2 separate regions of the Homo sapiens genome follow, and region 2 is linked to region 1. Evidence: promoter capture Hi-C in 16 types of primary human blood cells and fetal thymus (Javierre and others, 2016). All regions are on one chromosome and are shown on one strand. Each heading gives the region's core, a stretch centred on a gene start or on the middle of the fragment in contact. The rest is flanking DNA. Distances are from core to core; before and after follow the strand shown.

What was found. Contacts are between HindIII fragments. The CHiCAGO score rates a contact against its expected background, and 5 or more counts as called.
Region 2: a fragment that was not itself captured here is called in contact with the fragment with the promoter of BBS5 in region 1 in 1 of 17 cell types (M2 macrophages); the score reaches 5.2 in M2 macrophages.

What each region holds. Positions count from the first base shown.
Region 1 is chr2:169,476,287-169,483,683 of GRCh38, forward strand. It overlaps BBS5 (Bardet-Biedl syndrome 5), which reads left to right and starts at 3,208. Exons shown (of 12, transcript NM_152384.3): 1 at 3,208-3,326; 2 at 5,965-6,047. The coding sequence starts at 3,268. RefSeq lists enhancers at 3,022-3,131, 3,142-3,481. The HindIII fragment of the contact is 729 bases long and covers 3,147-3,875 here.
Region 2 is chr2:170,015,985-170,023,381 of GRCh38, forward strand. All of the region lies in intron 30 of UBR3 (ubiquitin protein ligase E3 component n-recognin 3), which reads left to right. Among named protein-coding and RNA genes, the nearest start is that of MYO3B, 160 kb to the right of the region's middle. The HindIII fragment of the contact is 1,902 bases long and covers 2,846-4,747 here.

The DNA of each region.
Region 1 (7,397 bases), core at 1,958-4,457:
CATGTTCAAGCAATTATCCTGTCTCAGCCTCCTGAGTAGCTGGGATTACAGGCGCCTGCCACCACACCTGGCTAATTTTTGTATTTTTAGAGGAGACAGGGTTACACCATGTTGGCCAGGCTGGTCTTGAACTCCTGACCTCAGGTGATCTACCTGCCTTGCCCTCCCAAAGTGCTGGGATTACAGGCATGACCCACCGCACCCAGCCTAGCAGCTGGCTTCTTCAAGGCAAGTGGGAGGGTCTTTCTCACCCCAGTTGGCTGAGACCAAGTCTTTTATAACATAACAGTCGTGGGAATGACATTTCATCACCTTTGATATATTCTATTGACTAGAAGCAAGTTCTCAGGTTCCAACCACACTCATGGGGAAGAGATTATACAAGGGCATGACTCATTGGAGTCCACCTTAATGTGTGTACACTCACGTTCCTTTGTCTCCATCACCCTCTTCAATCTGAGAAAAACACCTCATGGCCTTTCACATTAGTATCCCTAGTATTTGGCATATAGCCTGACCTATAGGAGCTCTAAATAATAATTCAAAGCTGCAGTTATCAAACTTTTGGTTTTGGGACCCCACTATCCTCTTAAAAACATTATTGAGGACCTAAAAGAGCTTTTGTTTACATACATTATATCTGTTAATACTGAGCGTTTTAAAACTCATTCATTCAAAAGTAAAAATCACTTATTATGTATTAACATATATAGCATTTTTAAAAAATAATTATATTTTCCAGACAATTTGTGAGAACATTGCTTTACATTTTTGCAATTTTTTTTAATGCCTGGTTTAGTAAAAGGCACCAGGATTCTCATACCTGCTTCCACATTCAATCATCATGCCTGGGTATGGTGGCTCTTACCTATAATCCTAGTGCTTTGGGAGGCTAAAGCAGGAGGATCACTTGAGGCTACGAGTTTGAGACCAGCCAGGGAAACACAGAGAGACCCTGTCTCTACAAATAAAATAAAATGAAATAAAAAATTAGCCAGGACTATGCCCGTAGTCCCAGCTACTCGGGAGGCTGAGGCGGGAGTATCACTTAAGCTCAGGAGCTTGAGATTACAGTGAGCTGTGATCGTGCCACTGTACTTCAGCCTGGGTGAATGAGACCCTGTAAGACAACAACAACAACAACAACAACAACAACAAAATCATATAGCCTCTGGAAAACTCCACTATATGTGAATGGGAGTTAAAAAGGCAAATGATGTCTTCACATTATTATGAATATAGTTTGACCTTGTGGGCCCCCTGTAGGGATCCAGATCAGTCTTTGTGAACCACTAATTTAAATAATTGTCATGCATTGAGAAAAGGGACTTTGATTCATTCAAGAAGTATTTACTGGGTCCTACTCTGTGCTGGGTATTGTTCAAAGCAGTCAACTAGATAGATCAGGTGTCTGTCCTCGGGTTGTTCACAGCAGGTGGGGCAGAAGGATCAGGGACTGCTGGAGTTGACATGTGAGCTGAGATGTGATTTGATTTGATTTGATTTGACTTTTTTTTGGAGCCAGAGTTTCGCTCTTGTTGCCCAGGCTGGAGTGCAATGGTGTGATCTCGGCTCACTGCAACCTCCGCCTCCCGGGTTCAAGTGATTCTCCTGCCTCAGGCTCCCGAGTAGCTGGGATTACAGGCGTCCACCACCGTGCCCAGCTAATTTGGGGTTTTTAGTAGAGATGGGGTTTCACCATGTTGGCCAGGCTGGTCTCGAACTCCTGACCTCAGGTGATCCGCCCACCTCGGCCTCCCAAAGTGCTGGGATTACAGGCCTGAGCCACAGCGCCCAGCCCAAGCAGAGATTTAAGTGACAAAGGGCAGGCCTATGCAGAGGTCTGGGGAAACAGTGTTCCAGGCAAAGGAAGGGGGCCCTCCAAAGTCTCTGAGCCCTGTCTGGCAAGAGAGCAGCCAGAAGTGAGGGTGGTTGGAGGTTGCAGACATAGGCAGGGCCACATTGAGCTAGGCCCAGGTAAGGAATTTGAAGCTTTAACTCTAAATTTCTTTTTTCCTCATTCTAAAACCATCCCAATAAAATTTATAAAAGTAATCAGGGAAGAAAGTGTGGGGGAGGGGACAAAAATAAACCAAGCTTGCAGCCAATTCGGCATTAATCATGAGGTCAGCTTCCTCTCTGACCTGCTTGCTCAGAGTTGTTTGGTGCCTATTGTCCTAGAATCATGCAGACCCTGTCACAAGATTATAGTTCCCTTCTATTGCTCTATAGAGAACAACTTGAACATTATGAAATACTCAGTTTTCCCTTTGAGATAGTCTTTCAGATCCTGCATACCAATGAAACTACTGCCTCAGCTGGCCTGAAGGATCCCACTGATGCCAGCTGGTCTGAGGAACCCGTGAGAAACTGATTCAGCAAAGAATGCAGCTTCCCTATCCTGATGATTTCATCTCCCTTACTCCGACCAATCAAGGACCCCAATTTTCCAGCCCCTCGCCCTCTGTGATCCTCTTAAAAACCTCAGCCCAGAACTCTTGGGAAGATAGATTCGAGGATCTCTTCCCATCTCTTTGCTAGGTGCCCTGCAATCATTAAACTCTTTCCCTGCTGCAAACTCTGCTGTCTTCGTGTAATGGGTTTGTTACTGCACAGCAGGCATACGAACCTGTTGATCCTATATCTCTATCACCTAGGCTGGAGGGCAGAGGCACGATCATAGCTCCCCGCAGCCTCCACCTCTTGGGTTCAAGAGATCCTCCCGCCTCAGCCTCCCGAGTAGTTGAGCCTGCAGGCGTGCACCACCACCCCTGGCTAATTTTGGGTTGGTTTTGTTTGTTTGTTTGTGTTTGTAGAGATGAAGTTTCGCTATGTTGCCCAGGCTAGTCTCGAATTCCTGGCCTCAAGTGATCCTCCAGCCTCGGCCTCCCAAACTGCAGGGATTACAGGCAGAAGCCACCATGCCCGGCTAATAACCTGAATCTCTTGACGGTGAAGAGAAATAAGGAGAGGGGTAAAATGGCTAAAGGATGTCTGTTTGGAGGCAAGGAAGGTCGCCCAGAGGTCAGGCACGCTCCCCTTGGCGGACACAGCTGGGCTTCTCAGAGACTCCTAAATCCTGCCTCGCATCTCAAATCGGCTTAACGACGCGAAAGAGCTGGGCGACGCGCGCGCACTCTCGCGGAAGCTTGAGTCTCGGCGCCCGCCGTAGACGTCGTGACAGAGGCGGCCCGTTGCCTTGGAGCCAGAGAGACGCAGCTAGGCCTGCACGGCTGTGGAGAGATCCTGCCACGGGCCTTGTTCACCATGTCGGTGCTGGATGCGCTTTGGGAGGATCGGGATGTCCGTTTCGACCTGTCCGCGCAGTGAGTTTCCAAGATTCCCGAGGGATCTTCAACCCTGTAGAGGGCGCCGCCGTGCGCGTTAGGGACCCGCGGGCGGAGACTGCACCTCCGCAGCTCGCGGCCCTGGTGAGGGTGGGAGGCTTGCGCCGGTCGTCCGCGCCTCGAGAGACCTCAGGCTGGTTGGGCCACTGTGGCCCTCTCGAGGCCGGCGCCGCGGCAAGAGCGCATCGGCATTACACAGTTTTGGTCCCATGCGACCTCCGGTTCCCCCATCCTGGCCCGCGGGACGGATCAGGAATGTGAACCTGAGCACGACCGGGGCCACCCGGGGCTTAGCGTCCCGTATACACCCACGTGAGCTTGGGATTTCAGTTTCATGGAAGGAACGTAGGTCAGGGACTCAGGAAACTAGGGTTCTAAAAGTAGATGTGTAATATCGACCCACAGTGTGGGCCCTTGAGCAGATGTCTTCATCATTCAAGCTAGAATCCTCATGTCTGTAAAATAAGGGAGGTGGGAGTAAGGCAGTCGTCAAAAATTACTAACCGCGCAAACTTTATGTCCTTGGTAAGCTTTCATCTAGTTATTCATATCAGTCACCAACAAGAAGGAGTCTTCTTTTGCAACCTGTTTTTGGAAATTATCATACATTAAATAGAAACCATGTTTTTGGAAAGTATCGTAAAGAAAAAGTGGTTAGAAACCTCCTACTCCAAAATCCAGGGCGGGAAATGCCGGTTGGGTTACTAAGTGTTGAGAAACGCTAAAGCTAAGATTCCTGGATTAATGGCATGGAGCTTCTTAGCTACTTCTTATCGTTCCTTATCATGGACCTCCCCTCCTTAGGTGGAATCGTTCCTTATCATGGACCTCACCTCCTTAGATGGAATCGTTCCTTATCATGGACCTCACCTCCTTAGATGGAAAAATGAAATATTGATAAATTTCTCAGGTTAAGTATAGCTAGATATCTAATGCTAACATGTTAGACCCTTTAAGAAGATGAAAGAGAAAGGAATTCGTAAAATTACGGACTGTAGTAACATATTGCGCACTTTCTATGACATTTTCTGTCATTCTTTTTTTTTTTTTTTTTTTTTTTTTTTTGAGACAGAGTTTCGCTCTTGTTGCCCAGGCTGGAGTGCAATGACGCGATCTCGGCTCACTGCGACCTCCGCCTCCCAGGTTCAAGCAATTCTCCTGCCTCAGCCTCCAGAGTAGCTGGGATTACAGGCACGCACCAACACGCCTGGCTAATTTTGTATTTTTAGTAGAGACGGGGTTTCTCCATGTTGAGGCTGGTCTCGAACTCCTGACCTCAGGTGATCCGCCCGCCTCGGCCTCCCAAAGTGCTGGGATTACAGGCGTGAGCCACTGCGCCCGGCGACATTTTCTGTCTTTCTTGTAGGGTTCTTAATCCAAACAAAAGTCCGTTTCAGTAACATTAGTAAACATTTATCCATGTTTTATTACGTGCTAGTTACTGGGCCGATAGCTAGAGACAGAAAATAATAGGAAATGATATTCATATCCCCCCGTTCTAGTGCAGGAGATACATACAGACAACCACTATAATAAATGTGGTAAATACCATTCTGAAAAAATGAGCGAAAAGCTGAGACTCATAGAAACAGAACAATTTATTCTACCTGGTGAAGTCCTTGAAGAAGAATAAATATTCATAGTATTTGAGTTGTTCCCTGAAGAATGGGCAGAGCCTTGTCAGGGTAGACAGGAGGAGAGTATTCCAGAAAAGAAGAAAAGAATTTAGCGTTAGAAGCAGTCTTGGAGCTGTAACCTCATTAGCTAAAGGCAGGGTCTGCTGCAGAGAGAGGTTGGAAGTACAAATAGATAAATTAGCCAGATTGTAACATTTTTAGCTCAGGATTTTGGACTTCAACTTCTAGGCAGCAGGAAGATATAGAAAGCTTTTAAGCAGGGAAATGATATGGTCATATCTGTATTTTCAATAGGTAGTTGAGTTGGCTTTATGAAGAGTGTATTAGAAGGCTCTTTTAGATATTTTGCTAGGTTTTTTTTTTTGGACACTGTAGAATGTATTCTGTCTGTCAGCAAGCTGCTCTTATTTCCTTTTGTCACCTGTATCTATTTGTCAAATTCCAAAGATGCTTTTCATACAGCTCTTCTTTAACCATTCCTTCTATAATTTCCTGATGTCCTTTCCTCTACTCAGAAACCTTTGGAGGTTCTCTCCTGTGCACAGGATAAGGCCTAAACCTATCAGACTGGCATTCTGAGTTCTCCATAGTCTGGTTCCTCCTTAGTTATCCAACAATATTTCTCTCACTACCTCCCAATATGGTCCTTCTTTCCAAGCTTGGCCAGCCTTCTCCCATGTCCTTACCATTTCTTATTCCTGGTCTTTAATCATGGACTCTCTTTTCTTTTCCTTTTATTTTTCAAAATTCAACACCTCCTACCAATCTGGCTTACTCCAGATGGCCCTGGTCACTCCAGGCCCCACTGATCTTCAGGTTCTTGAAGTTCTTGAAGACCTTATTTCTAAATGCATGAACATTTGGTACAGTATTATTTATGCTGTTAGCTGTTTTATGTACATATGTCTCTTTTCTCCCTAAATAGATTGCAAGCAGGTATAGTTGTAGCTATAAAATTCAAACCTTTATATTCACTTTAGGCAAATGAAAACAAGACCTGGAGAAGTCCTTATTGATTGTTTAGATTCCATTGAAGACACCAAAGGAAATAATGGAGATAGAGGTGAGTATATTTTTAAATGTATCTTATATTCCTGGTTTAATTTACAAATGTTGAATCATATTAGCTAGAGAATATATGAAACAGCATCATTTGTCAGTGTAATTGTGAGAATAGGAGAGTTAAATTCACATAAGACTTTTCTCAGATTTAAACAGAAGACAGGATAGGTATTAAACATGTAGTTTGGTCCTTCAGTAAGTCCTGGTTCTAACATCACCTTTATCCATTGTAGCTGTTAAAACTCAAGTAGACCTGTTTGCAAGGGGCATTAGTTCTGACCGTTAGATCTGTCTTCCCAAAAAAGGATATGGGGTAGTGGAATATAAGTAGGTCATAGCTGTAGTACCTGGAGCCATGCTTCCTTTTCAAAAATTCAGAAGTAATGCACCATCAATCACCTATGGTTGTCACCTAGACATGGATATGCGGAGAGCAAATTTAGTCCTGCACTGTGAAATCTATTTGTAGGTCAAGTACTAGAAAATCCTGTGAGTCTTCTCTGACTGTCACCAAGGACCAGCACAGCTGGACCCTAGAGCCCCTCCCAAACCAAATCTCCCTAAGGTTGGAACTTTTAAAAGTCCAGGCTGCCCATAGCAGCTATCTGTGGAGCCAGTGACCAGTAGGTCTTGAAAGCATCATTACTTCCAAGGAAAAAAAAATAGATGTGGAATGACAGCTTAATGTATCCAGAATATGTTTTAGTGGGAGAAGAAGTTTAGGAGGGAGGGATGTAAACCTCTTATTGGAAAGGGGTAAGAGGGGAAATAGAGCAGACTTCATTCAGGAAAGGGGGAATCAATAACTCATAGAGAAGGAACAGTAAACCTTATTAGCAGAACATGCTTACTGTAGCCCTTTGAGTGGCTGCTTGCTTCCTGAGACTTTCTTCTGACCTGCTCTGAGGTGGCATGTAGGCAGCAGGCCCTGTTGTAAGCCTGCTTCTCTGAGATTGGTTCCCCTCAGAGACCTTATTTTTAAATGCATGAACTTTTGGTACAGTATTATTTATGCTGCTGGCTCTTTTATGTACATATGTCTCGAACTCCTGACTTCAAGTGACCCACCTGTCTCGGCCTCCCAAAGTGCTGAGATTACAGGCATGAGCCACTGCTCCTGGCTAATGTACATATGTCTCTTAGTAGAGACATATTAGATGGTAAATATGTCCCTAATAGATGGCAAGTAGGTATAGTGGTAGCTATAAAATTCAGACCTTTGTATTCATTTTAGGCAAATGAAAACAAGACCTGGCGATGTCTTTATTGATTGTTTAGATTCGGTTGAAGACACCAGAGGAAATAATGGAGATAGAGGTGAGGGCAGTTCCCCTCAGAAGAAAGGCTTAGA
Region 2 (7,397 bases), core at 2,547-5,046, 540 kb after region 1:
ATTGAATATCAGCATATAGCTGATTATTTGCCCCAGATCACTGAAGTTGAAATATTACCTAATGTGATTGGTGTAGGAAATAAAACTTGTTTAAAACACATAATATATTCTTTTGAAAAATGAATATATATTCTCAAATACTAAAAAATAGTAAGTATTAAAAATTATCAATACATGTTGGTTTTTTAACAAAATATATGTTATTTCAAAAAATATGTAATTTTGAATTGATTCCAAAGCAAAGGGATGATCAAAAGCACTTTAAAATTTCTAACATAAAAGCAAACTTATGTGAAATTTTAACTTGGTTATCTTTAAAGTCTTATAAATTGCAGTAGAATTTGATATTTTCTTTTGGATTGTCACTTTATTCCTAGAACTTAAAATTTTGGAGGTTATTATTTTTATTTTTTAACCGAGTATTAGTAAAAATTGACCCCTTTATGCATTCATCTAAACCCTATTTCTATTCAGTGCTTTACTAGTATGTTTCAAAGGAAGTTGTTGATACATGGGAGTTTTAGTTTCTAATCTGTTTGAATTAATAGATATAATAATCATTTTAGTTATATAAATTATTCCTTCTTGTTAATTTGTTATTAATTGATGTTTGGCATTGGCTGATAATATTCCAGAAACTGTTGTGTTACAAAGTGTTTACTTTAGCGAAGGGTTTTCTGTTTTTAAAAATCTACTTATTTTTTTCTCTGAGGCACTTAAACTTATCTAGAGGCTTGTAAATAATGAATTTATCCAGATTCCTGAAAATAGTAATAAAATTCTAGTGGTAATCACTTTAATTACCAGAGTCAATTTTGTAATTTAAATTGTTAAATTTATACTTTCAGACTTTTGCTTCATTATTTTTCCCTTTACTAAATCAGAAATTATACTGTGCCAATATAGAAAAAGTCATGATAAAGTTTATCCTAAATGTAAGTTAATATTTCTTAGTTTTTGTATAATTTATTATTGTTCAGTTACTTATTTATCCTAATATTAATAAAAGCAGCCTGTAAGTCATATATATATATAGAATATGTTGTATATATGCAAAATCCCACTATCTTACAAGTGTATGAACTTAGTATTTGTTATTTATTCAAATAAAATTCAAACTTAAGTTGTACACCAGGACTTAAATTGATGATGATTCATGGGATCTCACTGCAAATATCTCATTTTTTTCATCTTCCAGTGCAACTTCAGTGGTATTATTAAAAAAAAAAAATCTATCTTTTTTCTAGGGAAATATCTTATTGTATTCATATTTTCCTTTTCCCATTGATTGCTCTTTATTGCTTTTTGAACATCTAATTTTTAATGTTTTTTCTTCCATAATGTTTTTGAGGAGAGTGAGAAAATGCCTCACTGATTAAGCAAATGATAAGGGAACTTTTTTCATTCTAAGAATATCACACTTTTGAAATACTGTTCTGTTACGACTTCTTGATGAAACTGAAAATTTGTCTAGTCAAGAAAACTTTTAATAAATTTTGTCTAGAGAGGATTGCGTAATGCCTGGTATATAATTACGGACACACACACACACACACACACAGACACACACACACACACACACACACACACACACACACAGGGGGAGAAGGGAAGATTGTTCTTTCTACAACAATGAAAGCAAAAAATATTAATGGCCAAATCTCTACTGAGAAATAAAATTGAAATGGAACAATGCCATTCAACTACATCTTCAAACATTTTTAAATAGTTGAGAGTAGTTAACCAGTGTCAATCAAAATAAAAGGTCAGTCCTAAAAATACGTGTCTGGGAAATTTTCCATAGTAAAAAGTTACTCAAATTAGCTCACATAGCAGCATAGTATGGTATTTTAATAATATAATATCCTACATTTGTAGTTTTAAAGTTTGTAAAGTTCTTTCACATAAATTATTTAATCTTTAGAACGACCATGTGAAATAGGTGTTATCTCTTTTTCATAGAAAAGGAATCTCAAGTTCAGAGTGATTGCCTTGCCAAGTCACACAGCTGGAAAATGTCAGAGCTTGCACTTGAGCCCAGCTCTTCTGACTCTAATTCAGTTATATAAGACATATCTCCTGCCCTTAAGTGTCCCAAAGGATGCAGAACTTTTAAGACCTTTCAGCCATTGGTTTAGTCAAAGACACTCTACTGTACAACATTGCCTTGGGATCTTTCCAGGCCCTTCTGTGCTAACTCTCCTATTTATCTTGTCTATTTTCTTTTGTCAGCCTTTCACCGTGAATCCTTTTTTGTTTGTTTGTTTTTGTTTTTGTTTTGAGCCATCTTTTCAGACATTTTTGCAAGTACTGAGTCCTTCTGCCCTGGATACCAGTTAGCTCTTCTTTATTCCTTGCCAGTTTGCTGGCTGGTTCCCCTTGCTCTTGCTATGAGCCATGTGCGTTAGTTCTCACATATAGCATAGCTGCCGATTCCTGGGTCAGAGCTCTAGCCCTCCTCCTTACCCACCAGGGAAGATCAGGCATTCAGGACCATGTATTCAGCACATGATACTGGTTCTAGAGACTGGTTCTCATCTGCTGGACTTGTATTCAGCAGATGAGACTTGTTCCAATGCCATGTCCACCAAAAACTTCGCTGATTCCAGCAGTGAATTTCCTAGAAGTTCTAGGGAATTTAGAGGTTTGTGATCATATCTATCTGCTGGAATCAGTGAAGCTTTTGGTGGACAAGGCATTTGAACAAGACTTTGAAAGATAAGTGAGGTTTAGAGTTTTTGTTACAAATTCGTATATACAGTAAGTACCACCAACTTGGTTAGCAACATATGTTGGAAAAAGCAGATGTAAAAATTAAAGGCATAACTTTTTATTAAAAATATTAAGCTTACTGTATTAATTTCTTCATTAAAGTGATTTGAAAGTAAATATGACACTCCATAAATTCTAGTGAAGTTCACATTCTTTCAGCACATTTTTGGCATGATATTCTCAGTGTATTTCTCAAGTAGAAATTGTTGAAACCATTGGCAATGCCATTTGATAAATTATTAATATTGGAGCATAATATAAAAAATTATTTCATTTGTAGGTAAACGTCTCTTCCTGTCTTTGGGTCTGAGAATTTGTCTGCTTATTACTGTCATTTAACTAAGAAACCACAGTTCATGTCTCAAATGGATTCCATGATTTTATAGAAAGATTAAAAATGAAATGTTAGTCAAGAAGAGGATAAGGCAAACTCTTGCCTTGACATTTTCATTTGGGAAGTTCTGACTTAATTTTGATGTAATCTATGATCTGATCAAGAAATTATGCATAGTCACTGCAGTAAATAATTTCTACCAGATTTGCTTTTCATAGCAAGCAACCCAGCTTAGATCTGTGCAGGCAACTTAAAATAGTTCTACTTGCTCAAAGAGTGAATTTTTGGTGAATTTAAAATTACAGAAAATTAGCCAGGTGCGGTGGCTCACTCATGTGATCCTAGCATTTTGGGAAGCTGAGGTTGGGAGGATCGCTTGAGTCCAAAAGTTGTTAACAGCCTGGGCAACATAGGGAGAACCTCATCTCTAAAAAGAAAAATAAAATTAGCTGGGTGTGGTGGCGTGTGCCTGTGGTCCCAGCTACTCAGGAGATGGAGGTGGGAGGATCGCTTAAGCCCAGAAGGTGGAGGCTGGAGTGAGGCATGATTGTGCCGTTGCACTACAGACTGGGTGACAAAGCAAGATACTGTCTCAAAAAAAAATTATAGAAAATTATTTTGACATTAATTTCTCCCTACAGTTAGGGAGCATAAAGATGTTAAACAAATAATGAGTTTTTACAAAATTACCCTTTTATTGTTGAGAGACAGGTTCTCCCTTTGTCACTCAGCTGGAGTGCAGTGGCACAATCATAGTTCACTGCAGCCTCGAACTCCTGGGCTCAAGCATTCCTTCCACCTCAGCCTCCCGAGTAGCTAGGACAGCAGACACACACCATCAGGCCCGACTAATTTTTTAATACATTTCTTTGTAGAGATGGGGTCTCACTATGTTGACCAGGCTGGTCTCAAGTTTTTGGCATCAAGCAATCCTCCCACCTTGGCCTCCCAAAGTGCTGGGATTATAGGCATGAACCACTATGCCTGGGCTAAAATTACTTTTAAGTAGTCTGGCCTTATTCTTTCACACTTAGTAGTAAAATTCTGACACTGATGGCTTATGAAGGCCTTTTTCAAATTTAAAAATACCAATTTCTGCAAGCAGATTGAACCACAATTTTGTTCAATTTTTTTTGTTACCATAAAAAAGGAAAATTTGGCCATCAAATTATTATAATGGTCAAAAGGTATAAATTAATACAAAAATGTGTAAATTGTCTCCTGAGACTAGTTATTGATCAGATTTGATGGCTAAAAGGTGATTTTGTGGTATTTGGGAATGTTTTATGTTCTGAAGAGCAAGTTGGTATGTATTTAGGGCCAACATGAAAGATACATATGTGGTGGAATAGACAACAGCAAACTAGGATCATAAGCATGTGCTTAGGCAAGACATTTTATGTTTTTGGCTTCAGTTTCCTCATCTATAAAATTAGTGTACTAGGCTGGATGCTCTGTCTCCTGACAGATGTTCATGGTTGTTAACTGTTACATGCAAAGCTCAAATCTGGAGCTTTTCCCCCCTGTTAATTAACATCATTGACATTAAGCATAAAAGGCAAATAGCTGGACTAGGAGTTATACTCTAGGAACTTTTAGAATTATACTTTATCTACAGTCATACACTGTAGAATAAATCAAAGCTTGGAGTTTTTGTTTTTCTTTTCTTTTGATACATCTTACAAATTCAGAAGATTTTGGTATTTTGTTTTATATTTTATTTTGCTCTTCATTTTAAATAGTGCATAAATAAAAAATAGAGGCTGTCAGTGAAATCACATGATAAATAGAATCAGAATCTTTGAGCTAAAAGTTACTTAGGAAATCTCCTAGTCTAAATGTTATCTAGCTCAGGCATCTTGTACCTACTATTCCAATCGTTTGCACTGTGCTTGAACACTTTCAGAGATAAGGAGTACTGTTTGAGATAGGTGAGGAGTTTGGTAAGCCTTTTAAAGGATGGTGATATTAAAAGGCAGCATAGTGTAAACTAGAGAGTGAGATTCTGTTCCTCATTAATACCCAATCAGAGGATTGTTGTAAGAATTCAATTTTATAATATATATTCTAGTTTCTATAGATTGTAAATCTCAACATTAATATTTCTCCTATTTCAACACTATAATTGTCAAATTGGGGGGTGTGTGGATAAGGAGAAGGAGCAAGATAACACTTTTTAGCTCAATTTTTGTCTTAGTCTATAACAATATACCATAGACTGGGTGGCTTATATACAACAGAAATGTATTTCTCACAGATCTGGAGGCTGGGAAGTCTAAGATCAAGGCTCCAGCAGATTTGGTGTCTGGTGAGGGCCTGCTTGCTTCCTCATACATAGCTGTCTTCTCACTGTAACCTCACGTGGTGGAAGGGGCAAGAGATCTCTCTGGGATCTCTTTTATAAGAGCACTAATCCCATTCATGAGGGCTTCCTCGTGACCTAATCACTTCTCAAAGGCCCCACCTCCTTATACTAACCTTGGGGTTAGGACTTCAACATATGAATTTTGGTGGGACATAAACATTCAGTCCATTGCAGTTTTTTTTAAGGGACTTGACAGACTTTCTTTTGACCTCTTCAGAGATGAGATTAGGAGGACAGAATGAGATTTATCCCCATGATAAAGTTTATCTTTTGAGAACAAAATACATTGTTAATTTGGAGAGGTTTAAGAATGTGGCATGAAAATTTAAGTTAGAGGAGTGGCTTTAAATTTTCTTTAAGGCCTTTCTGAAAGTGCCATGATTTGTGACTTAAGTAGCCAGGCCTTTCTGTATTTATAATTTGGGCATTCAAGAACTAAGTACCATAGATAGTAATTTTCACTATCAGGACATAGGAGTCTTTGGATCTTACTTGGCTTAGGGCGAGGCAGCTTCTTTCTTCTGCAGTTAGATAGGACAAACTCTACCCCCATTTTAAACGAGGTGCTTAAATAAGACCTGGATTCATGGAATGTGCCTCTTTAGTAAAGAGGAAGTTAGGAGTCCTAAGAACTGACCTCTCTTCCTAGGACTACCTATATGCAGAAGCAGAATTGTCCTCTCCCTGTCTCTTATCATCCCAAGCTCTGTCGGAAAGCGAAAAGGGGAGGCTTCTAGTCCCTGAAACCTTAAAGTAGAAGGTGAACAATTTGGTGAAGCTAATAATAATACTTGTGGATACTTGGGTTAACCAGAGAATTATGGCATACTGTGCCTGGGAGTGGAGACATAGGAACTCCGGGAGGCAGGAGAGGAACACAACATGGAAAGTATGAAAGTACTCAAGACAGCCTTTTTCTTCACTGTCTTCCCTTCCTCACATGGCAGAAAAAACCTCTCCAAAGGAAGCAACACTTCCCCACTCTATTCCCAAAATCCCATGTGTCCTTGTTGACTGGTGAAAACCTAGCATATAGTGCTGGAAGGAACACCGGGTTGGAGTTTGAAGGCATGGATTCTAGTGTATTTGTTATCTGTTGGACTTTGGGAACCTAACCTAACTTTTTACCTCATTGTGGAAGTGAGGATGATGGTACTTATACTGACTATCTGATATATCCATCATAGTTAATGTAATGATCAAATAGTATTAGATATATGAGCTAAAGTATCTTACATAATATGTTATTATATATAATAATAATTATTAAACTTGTCTTTTAACTCTTTAAAATTCTACCATAACTGCCACTTGATTCTCTGCCCTGCCTTGCCTGGAGTGCTTAGGAATGGGATAGGGAGAGATGAGTCAGCTCCTGTCATCCATGGCATCAACCTTCTGTCTCTTGGGAACCAGATCTACAGATGTTCCCTTCTTCTTGGACCTGTTCCCAGACCTCATTTAAAGAGCTCTTTCCCATCTCTTCATGGCTGATTTCTCAGGGACATACAGAGGAACCAGTGGAAGCTGGCTTTGATGTGAGAGGTGTATACTCACACCTATTACATTCACCTTAGGATAAGTAGGTCAGAACCATTTCCTCACTTTGATTATTCAGTTGCAGAGAAAGGGAGATTTTTTTCTCCACCCCCATGATATTTCAGAGTCATTTGGCTAGTTGAGTTTTTTTTTTTTTTTTAAGGGACAGGGTCTTGCTTTGTTACCCACGCTGGCCTCAAACTCCTGGGCTCAAATAATCCTCCCATCTCAGCCTTCTGAGTAGCTGGGACTACAGGTATGTGTCACCTTGCCTGGCTGAGGTTTTTTCCATTGACAGTGATTTAACCATTGATGACTAGACTGATAAGACTGAAGTCTTGAATACAGACCCAGTTAAGTTTACTTTAGGTGCATTTTAACAGTGGT